Linked DNA regions of Homo sapiens: all the other regions are linked to region 3. Evidence: promoter capture Hi-C in 16 types of primary human blood cells and fetal thymus (Javierre and others, 2016). All regions are on one chromosome and are shown on one strand. The core of a region is centred on a gene start or on the middle of the fragment in contact, and the rest is flanking DNA. Distances in the headings are between cores, read along the strand shown. Region 1 has its middle 90 kb from the start of EHD3. Region 2 overlaps EHD3 (EH domain containing 3). Region 3 holds the start of LBH (LBH regulator of Wnt signaling pathway).

Region 1 (2,700 bases), core at 182-2,681, 1.1 Mb after region 3:
GGGGCACCTCAACTCCATAGAACAGAAGCTCCTGCACTTAGGACCCTTCAGACCTTTTCCTATGTTCCCTATATGCCTGGAACTCATCTGGTTGCTCATTTGCATCCTTTATAATAAGCTGGTCAATGTAAGTAAAGTGCATTCCTGAGTTCTGTGAGCTGTCCTGGCAAACTATCAAACATGAGGAGAGAGGCATGGGAACCCCTATTTATAGCCAGTTGGCCAGAAGTACAGGAGGCCTGGCACTGAAGCAGGGGCAGTCTTATGAGACTGAGCCATTAGGCTGTGAGGTCTGTGATAACTCCAGGTAGTTAGTGTCAGAATTGATCTGAACTGTTGGACACTCTGGTGTCCAGAGAATCAGAGAATCGGTTGTAGTGTTGGAAAGCACCCTATGTAGAGTACCCATGAAGAGGGGAGAGAAAAAACTATTCATTAGCCTGTGGAAGCAGCAAGAAAGCATTGTATCTACTCAGAGTTCTTGGGAAGAAAAGAAAACAAAAAGTTTATATGAAAAATCAAAATTCCAGGTGTGGGGTCTATATTTACCCAGCACACATGGTAGAAGCTCACCTTTGAACTGATAAAAAGGCAATAAAAGCACAGAAGACACATGTGCTCTATAGGGAATCGTTCCCCAACCCACAGAGCACAAGTTCACCACAGGAAACGGAACACTCATTGAGAATAAGCTTATAATGAAAAAAAAATGATCTATGTGAATAAATATTCCACATTGAAGGAAAGAATTAGACTATGAGAACTTGTAAAATCTGTTAAAAATAAATTGTACTTAAAATGTTAGAAAACACTTCTGTGAAGTTCTTACTACATGGTAAGCATTGTTCTAAGCATTTTACTTGTTTTAAAGAGATGAAAGAAGGAGTAGAACACAATGATAAAATACAATAAATGGAAAAGGAAATAGTGTCGATCATCACATACGAAGCACTACCAAAATTCCCCATGCACTGGCACTTGGTAGAGCTACATGACTTGTTCTGGCCAGTGGTCTGTGGCAGGTGGTGCTGCGTGTTAATTCCAATATTGGCCATAGGATAGCTAATGTGACATCCTCCAGATGTCCGTTTCCCTGTTGCAGACACCCAGTAAGCCTCATATTCCAGGTAGTGCAACTGCTAGATGATGGAGCCTCTTTCGTCCTTGGTCTCTGAGTGACCGTGTAGAACAGACCCCACCAAAATCCACTGGGTACAAAGGAGTGAGAAATAAACTATTGCTGTATTCAATCATGGAGATTGGGAAATTTGGGATTATTTTCTTTCTGTAGCATAACCTAGTCTGTACTAACTCAAGTGAATGTGAAAAAAAATCAGAATGTATGAAAATAAAAGTAAAGAAACTAAGACTAAAAACTCGATTTACTTAAACATGAAAATAGACAGAGTTGAAGAGATCATTAAATAATTGAAATGTAGACCTAGGAAATTACCCAGAAAGCACCACAGAGATAGAGATGAGAAATATGAGGCCTAAAGATACATGGAGGATAGAATTAGAAGTTTCAGTACAAATCTATTTAGAAGTTAAGGAAAGAAAGGATAGAGAGAATGGAGGAGAAATAATGTTGCAATAAATAAGGGCTTAGAATTTTCCAGACTTGAAAACAAGTTCTCAGGATAAAGAAGCATGGTGAATTCCAAGAATAATAGGTAAAAAGTTAATCCATGCCTAGACAACAGAACACCTTAAAATAGAATACTTTAACAGAAGAAAAACAGCCAGAGAAGAGATAGTGCCTGCAAAAGAAAGACAATTACGCTGGCATCAGAAAAATACATTCCAAGGGTTTGGGAAATATAACTACTCAGCTAAATCAATAGCAGCTAATTCAGCAAAATCATCATTTATGAATGAGGGCAAAATAAAGCCTTTTTTTTTTTTAACAAAAAGAGACAGAGCTTGCCATTCACAAACTCTGGCTGAAAAACTATGAAAGCGTGTGTTTCTAAAAGAAGGAAATTGAAGCCAGAAGGAGGGAGTGGAATAAGAAAGCAATAACGAGAAAAACAAAGGTAAGCGTATGAGTAAAACTAAATATTTGCCTGTACAAGAATAACAACAATGACTAATCAGAGTGTTAAAGTGAAACTGAAACACTTGATTATAGCCACACGGAGGAAGAGAGGGGAAAATCAATTAATGCATTCTAAGCTTCTCATCCTGTTTGGTGACAACATAGAAATATTAATTAAACATAGGCTTTGCTGAATCAAGTGTGCATGCTAAAAATACAGAGATGACTTCTAAAAGAATAGAAATAGGATGTAGAAGCACGAAACTCATATAAAGAATGAGGTGGGGAGAATGGTGGGGCAGGGGAAGGGTCGGGGGACAGGGATGCTTGATTAAGCCAACAGCAGACAATGAGAAAAAGAGAAAGAACATGGTCAGTAGTGACACACCAAATGAGATGATAGAAATGTCAAAATAGGCTATTAATCACAATTAATGTAAACACATTGTTTTGCCAGTTAAAAGAGAAATATCCTTAGATTGCATTTAAACACACACGTCCATCATGCATGCTATTCATAAGAGGCCAAACCATACACAAACTATGTGTATTATTTATTAGAGACTCAATAAAACGTGACACGAACAGTTGAAAATAAAGAAATGGGGAAGGTATGCTCCAAAATTCCAGTGTGGGCTATGTGCCTTAGAGGAAAGCTCTCA
Region 2 (2,937 bases), core at 15-2,514, 1.0 Mb after region 3:
TTCTGGCATTACTGAGTCTGTAATTGGATAGCAGCTTTCCAGAGCAAATAGGAGGCCTCTGCTTATAAAATCACGGAAAGAGTTCCCAGAAGCCCTTGGCCTGTCCTCAGGCAGAGGCAGACTTCACACAGGCATCCCCGAGGCCTGTAAGACAGCAGCCTGCAGCCTCTCTCTCTTGCTGTGCCTGCAAAGGGTCCCTTGTAGCTAATCTCCATCCATCCTGTTGTACTCCCCACCCTCACACCTCTGGTCTCAGATGCAGAGAATTGTGAACCGAGAAAGGAAGCTCGGAGGTTGTCCAGCTCAATCCCCTGATTTGACAGGCAAAGAGACAGAGGACTAGAGAGGGGAGATTCTTGCCCAAGGACACACAGTAAGTTAGTGGCTAAGCGGAAACGAGAGGTGGACTCACCCAGGCCAGTGCTCCTCTGGTGACTCCTACAGAGCACATCCCATCTCATAGAAACTAGGGCTTAAAAGGAGTGCTTTACAAAAAACAGCAGGGCAATGAGAACAGCCAAGGTCACAGCTCAGCAGTTTCACCTGCATCCTCTGATTTGTTTAGATCCTCACAATAACCCTACGACTGAGTCACTGATTCCTCAACCATAAAACTGAGGCCCAGAGATTACTCATTTACTGTCTCCCAGATGCCAAACGTGGAACAGGTTTCCACGTTTTCCACGTTTCACTTCCGTTCAGCAAATACTGATAGTGCACCTGCTGTGTGCCACACACCGTGCTGGGTGCAGGGGAAGCCCAGAAGGGTGAGGTGCTGCCCCTGCCCTGTCCAGCTCCCAGTGCACCGAGGATGATTTCAGTGAGCTGAAGAGCAGAACAGGAGCGTGCATGATGCTACAAGACCACTGAGGGCAGGGACAGGGATAGGCAGGGGTCTATCCTGTTCTGGCAGCATGGACATATTGCTGCCCCTCAGCCTTTGCAGACACAGCCTTCTCTTACATCGCTGGTGTCATCAGGGATTGCAGCAAGTTGCAGGGACAGAGCCTCTTCCCTTCTCTGCAGCTTCTCTGGTGTCTTTGTTTTCCCCAGCCTGGTGGAGGCGTGGCTACAGTGCAAGAGTTGAGTTTGGAGTTCAGGTCTTGGCTCTGACCCCCAGCATTGCATGGCCTTGGGCCTTTCTCTCACCCTCTATAAACCTCCATTACCTTGTCAGCATAGGACTCAACACTGGCTGCCCTGGCTGCCTTAGCCTGTTCTGAGCCATTGAGCCAATATATTGGGGCTGAGATTTGCTGGACAGGTGAGAGGGAGCTGCAGCCCAGTCTTGGTCCTCCCAGCAGCCCCTCCTGTGGCCTGCACTGGCACAGCTAAAATCCAGATTGGGGAATAAGGAGCAGCAGAAGGCCAGAGGCCTGGCAGGGAGTTGTGGAGGGTCCCTACTGCCCTCCTGCTGTGAGCTGTTTGCAGAGGTGGGGGTTGGGGATTTTCTTAGCCCTCTGGCCCCTCCCTACCCACAGCTCTGAGGGACTGCCTTTGGGAGGTGACAGCAGCCTTGCCATGCGCTGTGCTGAAGGGAAGATAAAAATAGGCTGGAGCCATCCCTGGGAAGGGAAGGATGGACAGAGGGATGTAGGAAGGAGGGGAGTAGTGCGGGCTGCAGGCTTCACCTGAAGTGGGAATGCTTAGGCTTCCCGGGCTCCAGTGAGGAGCTGGCTGTGCCTGCGTGCCAGGGAGGGAGGGAGGGAGGCAGGGAGCGGCCAGGTGCAGAACGGCTGGATGGCTGACAGCTGGGTCATCTGGCCTCACGACTTGCCAACTGTTTGACTCTCTCCTCTCTGAACCTCAGTTTCCTCCCCTGGAAGTGAGAACGATACTCCTCGCGCTGCCTGCCTCAGAGCGTGTCGTGAGGGTGACATGAGATAATGACATGAACATCTTACCGTCTGCAGCAAGCACTGAACTTCGAGTTGGAGGCTAGGGGTCGTGTCTCATGGGTGGTATTGGCTGAGTCACTTAACTCCTAGAGTTTGCGTGAACATCTCCGAGGGAGGGTTGATGATGCCCCTGCCCACTGGGCAGAGCAGCCTCTGAAGCACTTTCCTGGGCCTTGTCTCTGAGCCGAGACAGGACACCTGTGTTCAAAAGAGAAGGCAAAATCTAGTTCACACCAGGCCCTCGATGACGCACCCATCAGGAACTATCCTCAGGATGGCACCTGGAGATACTGGGCCAGCTCTGCCCCTTCCTGAGCCTCAGTTTCCCTATCTGTAAATCAGGAAGTTGGACCATTGATGGCTAAGCTCCTCGTAGCCTCATAGGTCTACGCCACAGGAGCAGGGGGAGAAGGCTCAGGTGTTAGTTGAGCTGTATATTCATTGAGCAGCTGACAGATCTTGGAGAAAATCACATGGCAATGGGAATGCTTGGAAGCACTTCATTTACCAAAGACAGAGGAGCTGAAAATGGAGTAGTACTGGCATCCGGGTAACCAAAGGAGGGTTTGACCTTCCTTTGTTTGTTAGAATTCTCTTACAGCCACCAGGGAAACATTACAGGGGTCCTCCAGGAAGCTTTAGGGCAGCAAGTTTTCCCGACCGTCTGATCCCATCCCCCTACCCCCTGTGGCAGTGCCTCCACACGTCCTAAATATGTACCCCACTGGGTGTTCACTAGATGCCACAGGGTGGGGGAAAGGCTTTTTAAACCTAGCTCCGTTGGCTCCATTCATCCTCATCCCCCACCCCATCGATGCCTGCTACTTAGTCTGAAATGACAGCCTTTGAAAGTGAAAGCCAACTCGGTGCAGTGGTTCATAGCACTGACTCCAGGGCTACCTTCCTGGACTTGAGTCCCAGCCCATTGCTTACCAGCTGGGTGACCTTAGACAAGTTCCTTTATCTGTTTGTATCTCTGGTTACTCCTCAGAGAAGTGGGGCTGATATTAGTGTCTAATGACCCTACACAGAGTCATCG
Region 3 (2,905 bases), core at 128-2,627:
ATAAGCATATAAGTGATTGAAAATAGCCCAGTTATTTTTAAATAAATTATTCTCATCAATTCTTATAATTTTTGTTTGGGCTGGTTTTGCGGGGACTGATGAAAATTATGAGGGTCTTCTCTCACGGCTTCCTTCAGGGTCCTACCCCTGTCGAACCTTCGCCATTAATTCTGTCATCCTTTTGCCTGAGATAAGCTATGCGTTTCCACTTTCAAGTACATATATACGGATTCAATACACTCACTGCCTTTCTTTTAAAAAGCTGATTCACTTCAAAGCCAATTTAATTTTGCTTAGTTTTTGATCTCCCCGCGCCCCCTTTCCTCAGCCCCTATACACAGGTAGGTGAGGGTTCTAAAGCCATTTTACAGGCGTGATTGAAGCGGAGGCCACAGAGCGGCAGCGCTGGGTCCCGAGTGAGACTCCCATCATGTGGCTCTGGGGGGCTGCGCAGCTTTGACTGCCTGGACAGACGCCCAGAGCTGCAATTCCTGGGCAGTGTGGGAGGCGTTCGGCTAAAGCTCTTTGTTTCTGCTGTCATGAGCGACTCCTCGGAGAAGACGTGGGAGTCAAGGATGGGGGGCGGCGTGCACACCGCCCGCCCACACCTTCTGCCCCCGCTGCAGACCGGGCGTATGTGTGTCTCCAATGGAAAAATCCTACCCAGGACGACACCACATCCTTGCTCCCACAAATAAAACCTTCCACGGAACTCAGGGCTGCAGACCAGCCCTTCGCAAGCCAACGCGCCCCGTGGGCACTCGGTCCCCCGGCTCCGCGTCTCTGCCACCTTCCCACCGCTTCTTCTTTAACCATGCTCTTGTTTCCCCTCGCTGATCGCAAGGCTGCGGGCGAGGATTCCAGAGAGAGGCCTAGTATGGGGAACAAACGCTTCAGAGGGGTCCGAGGTGGGCTGGGGACAGCCAGTGGATGGGAAGGAGGGCGCTGGCGCCGGGCGGCTGGGGTGGAGGAGTGGCGGGTGCCCTACCCCGGCGCAGAGCAGCCGCCGAGCTGTCATGTCCCGAGCGGCCCCCGCGCCCTCCTTGCGCCCACCTCCGCCGCGCTGGAGTTCGGGGTGTGCGTGGAGGGGGCTGTGAGCGGGAAGCGGCGCGGACGCGGAGTCCGGGCCGGTGCGAGTGAGCGCGTGTGCGCGTGGGAGAGCGGCGGGAGGGGGCCGGGCTCGCAGCCGCAGCGAACCACGGCCCCGGGAGCAGAGCCGAGCGCGCCCCCGAGCCGCCGCCCGCCGGAGCTGCGAGCGCTGAAGCCATTCATGATTTTGGTGACGTTATTCCAGGAGTGGGCGAGGGAGGGCGGGGCCTCTCGGGGCCAAGCCCCGCCCCCGCCCCTATAAATACGGCTTCCCGGGCTCTTTGTGGGGCTGAGTGCTCAGTGGAGAGCGGGGAGTTGTGTCCACCTTGCCGACGTCGCTAGCCGTGGGGCTGTCCTGGGAAGGCGGACGGCGAGCGCCCGGTGTCCGCACTCGGCCGCCTGCCGTGCCCGTCTGCGCCCGTGTCATCCTCACTCGGGACGCAGGGACCGTTTTTAAATCACAGGGGCGTGTGTCAGCCTGCCCTAGGACTTCATGTCTATATATTTCCCCATTCACTGGTGAGTACCCTGCGCCTGCGGCGGGCGTCTGTCTCGCGGCGGTGGCTGCGGGCCCGGGCGCCTGCTTCGTGCCGGCTCCGGGTGCGAGGGCAGCCGGCGGCGCGGGCGCTCAGCGCTAACCCGCCGCCCGAGCCCGTGCAGGAGTCAACGTCAAGGTTGCAAAGGTGGGGGTGGGGGGAGGGGGTGCTGAGAACATCCAGACAAAGGACGTGAACTCGGAGCCCTCACCTAAGTGACGGCCGGAGGGTTTGTATTGGTTGGCGGGGGAGCCAGGGGTCACGTGTGAATCCCCCCCAATGAAACCACCCTATGCGGAGAGCTGCAGGAGGCGCGCGCCCCACTTGGCGCAGGGGGGCTCCTGCTCTTCCCGGGCCCCTCCTCTTTTTCTTTTTGTTTGCATGCAAGTCTCAACGTCGAGGCCGGCAGCAGCGGGGCTGAGCTGGTGCGGCCGCAGGGTTTGCAGAGCTCCGGGGGGGTGGGGGGCGGGAAACGCTCTCCCCACACGTAACCCCACTAAAGCCACAAGCAGCAGGGCACGCGCTGCAGCCTCTCAACCCCTGCCCTCTCCACCGCCCCTAAAAACCGACGCACATTGGTGGGGGCCGGGACTGGGAGGAGCCGCCTTCGCCGTGCTGAAGGGGAAGGAGCCCGGGCCGGGCGCGGGGCGTCGGAGGTTTGCCCCGGACTGGGGATCGGAGCCGGGAGGGATGCAGAGAGAGGCAGGCCCCTGACTGCTGGGACTTCCTTGCTGGCAGTTTCTTCCTTCCTGCTCTGGGTTAGAGGAGAAGCGGCCGGGGGCGAGCGCCGGCAGCCCCGGAGCGCGCTCTCAGGTGCGGACGTGGGGAGCTCGGCCCCGAGTCTCCGGCAGGCGCTGAGCGAAGGGAAAACCGGCGCAAGCCGCGGCGGGGTCCGGCCTGGCCCAAGAAGCGGAAAGTTCATGCTTCTCGCTTCAACTTTTCGGGCCGGCGCCACAGCCCCGAGCGAGGAAGAGCCGCCCCTACGTCAGACTCTTCACCCTGCGTGCGCTCTTCTGGCTCCTTTCTTTGGAGGTCGCCAGCAGCCTTTCCAAGACCCGGGAGGAAACTGCCTTTGCAGGGCCCAGCTCCCGAACCTAAACTTGCCGCAAAGCCCCGCATCTTCTGTTAGTCTCCCTGCCCCCATCCGTCCCAGCCTGGCAGTGTTTAGAGAGGGGACTGAACTTCCCTCTCTCAACAGTTCAAGTTCCCCCACCCCGAGGCTTGTGTACCCTTCTTGTGGGTGCCCCTCCCTTGCCTCTCCCGTGGTGTGTGAGCAGCTA

What was found. The method cuts DNA at HindIII sites, captures the fragments that hold promoters and counts their contacts. A CHiCAGO score of 5 or more calls a contact.
Region 1: a contact is called between a fragment that was not itself captured here and the fragment with the promoter of LBH in region 3, in 1 of 17 cell types (fetal thymus). The highest score is 8.6, in fetal thymus.
Region 2: a contact is called between a fragment that was not itself captured here and the fragment with the promoter of LBH in region 3, in 1 of 17 cell types (naive B cells). The highest score is 5.3, in naive B cells.

The regions. Positions count from the first base shown.
Region 1 is chr2:31,322,361-31,325,060 of GRCh38, forward strand. No RefSeq gene overlaps it. Among named protein-coding and RNA genes, the nearest start is that of EHD3, 90 kb to the left of the region's middle. The HindIII fragment of the contact is 1,483 bases long and covers 691-2,173 here.
Region 2 is chr2:31,255,752-31,258,688 of GRCh38, forward strand. The region is part of intron 3 of EHD3 (EH domain containing 3); the gene reads left to right. LOC124905983 (a long non-coding RNA gene) reads right to left here. Exons shown (of 4, transcript XR_007086270.1): 2 at 1,905-2,096. Among named protein-coding and RNA genes, the nearest start is that of EHD3, 23 kb to the left of the region's middle. RefSeq lists enhancers at 456-1,283, 1,369-1,418. The HindIII fragment of the contact is 2,535 bases long and covers 1-2,532 here.
Region 3 is chr2:30,230,157-30,233,061 of GRCh38, forward strand. LBH (LBH regulator of Wnt signaling pathway) reads left to right here and starts at 1,378. Exons shown (of 3, transcript NM_030915.4): 1 at 1,378-1,608. The coding sequence starts at 1,583. RefSeq lists enhancers at 44-559, 560-1,074 and silencers at 878-1,427, 1,628-1,717, 2,108-2,307, 2,318-2,377. The HindIII fragment of the contact is 3,135 bases long and covers 1-2,905 here.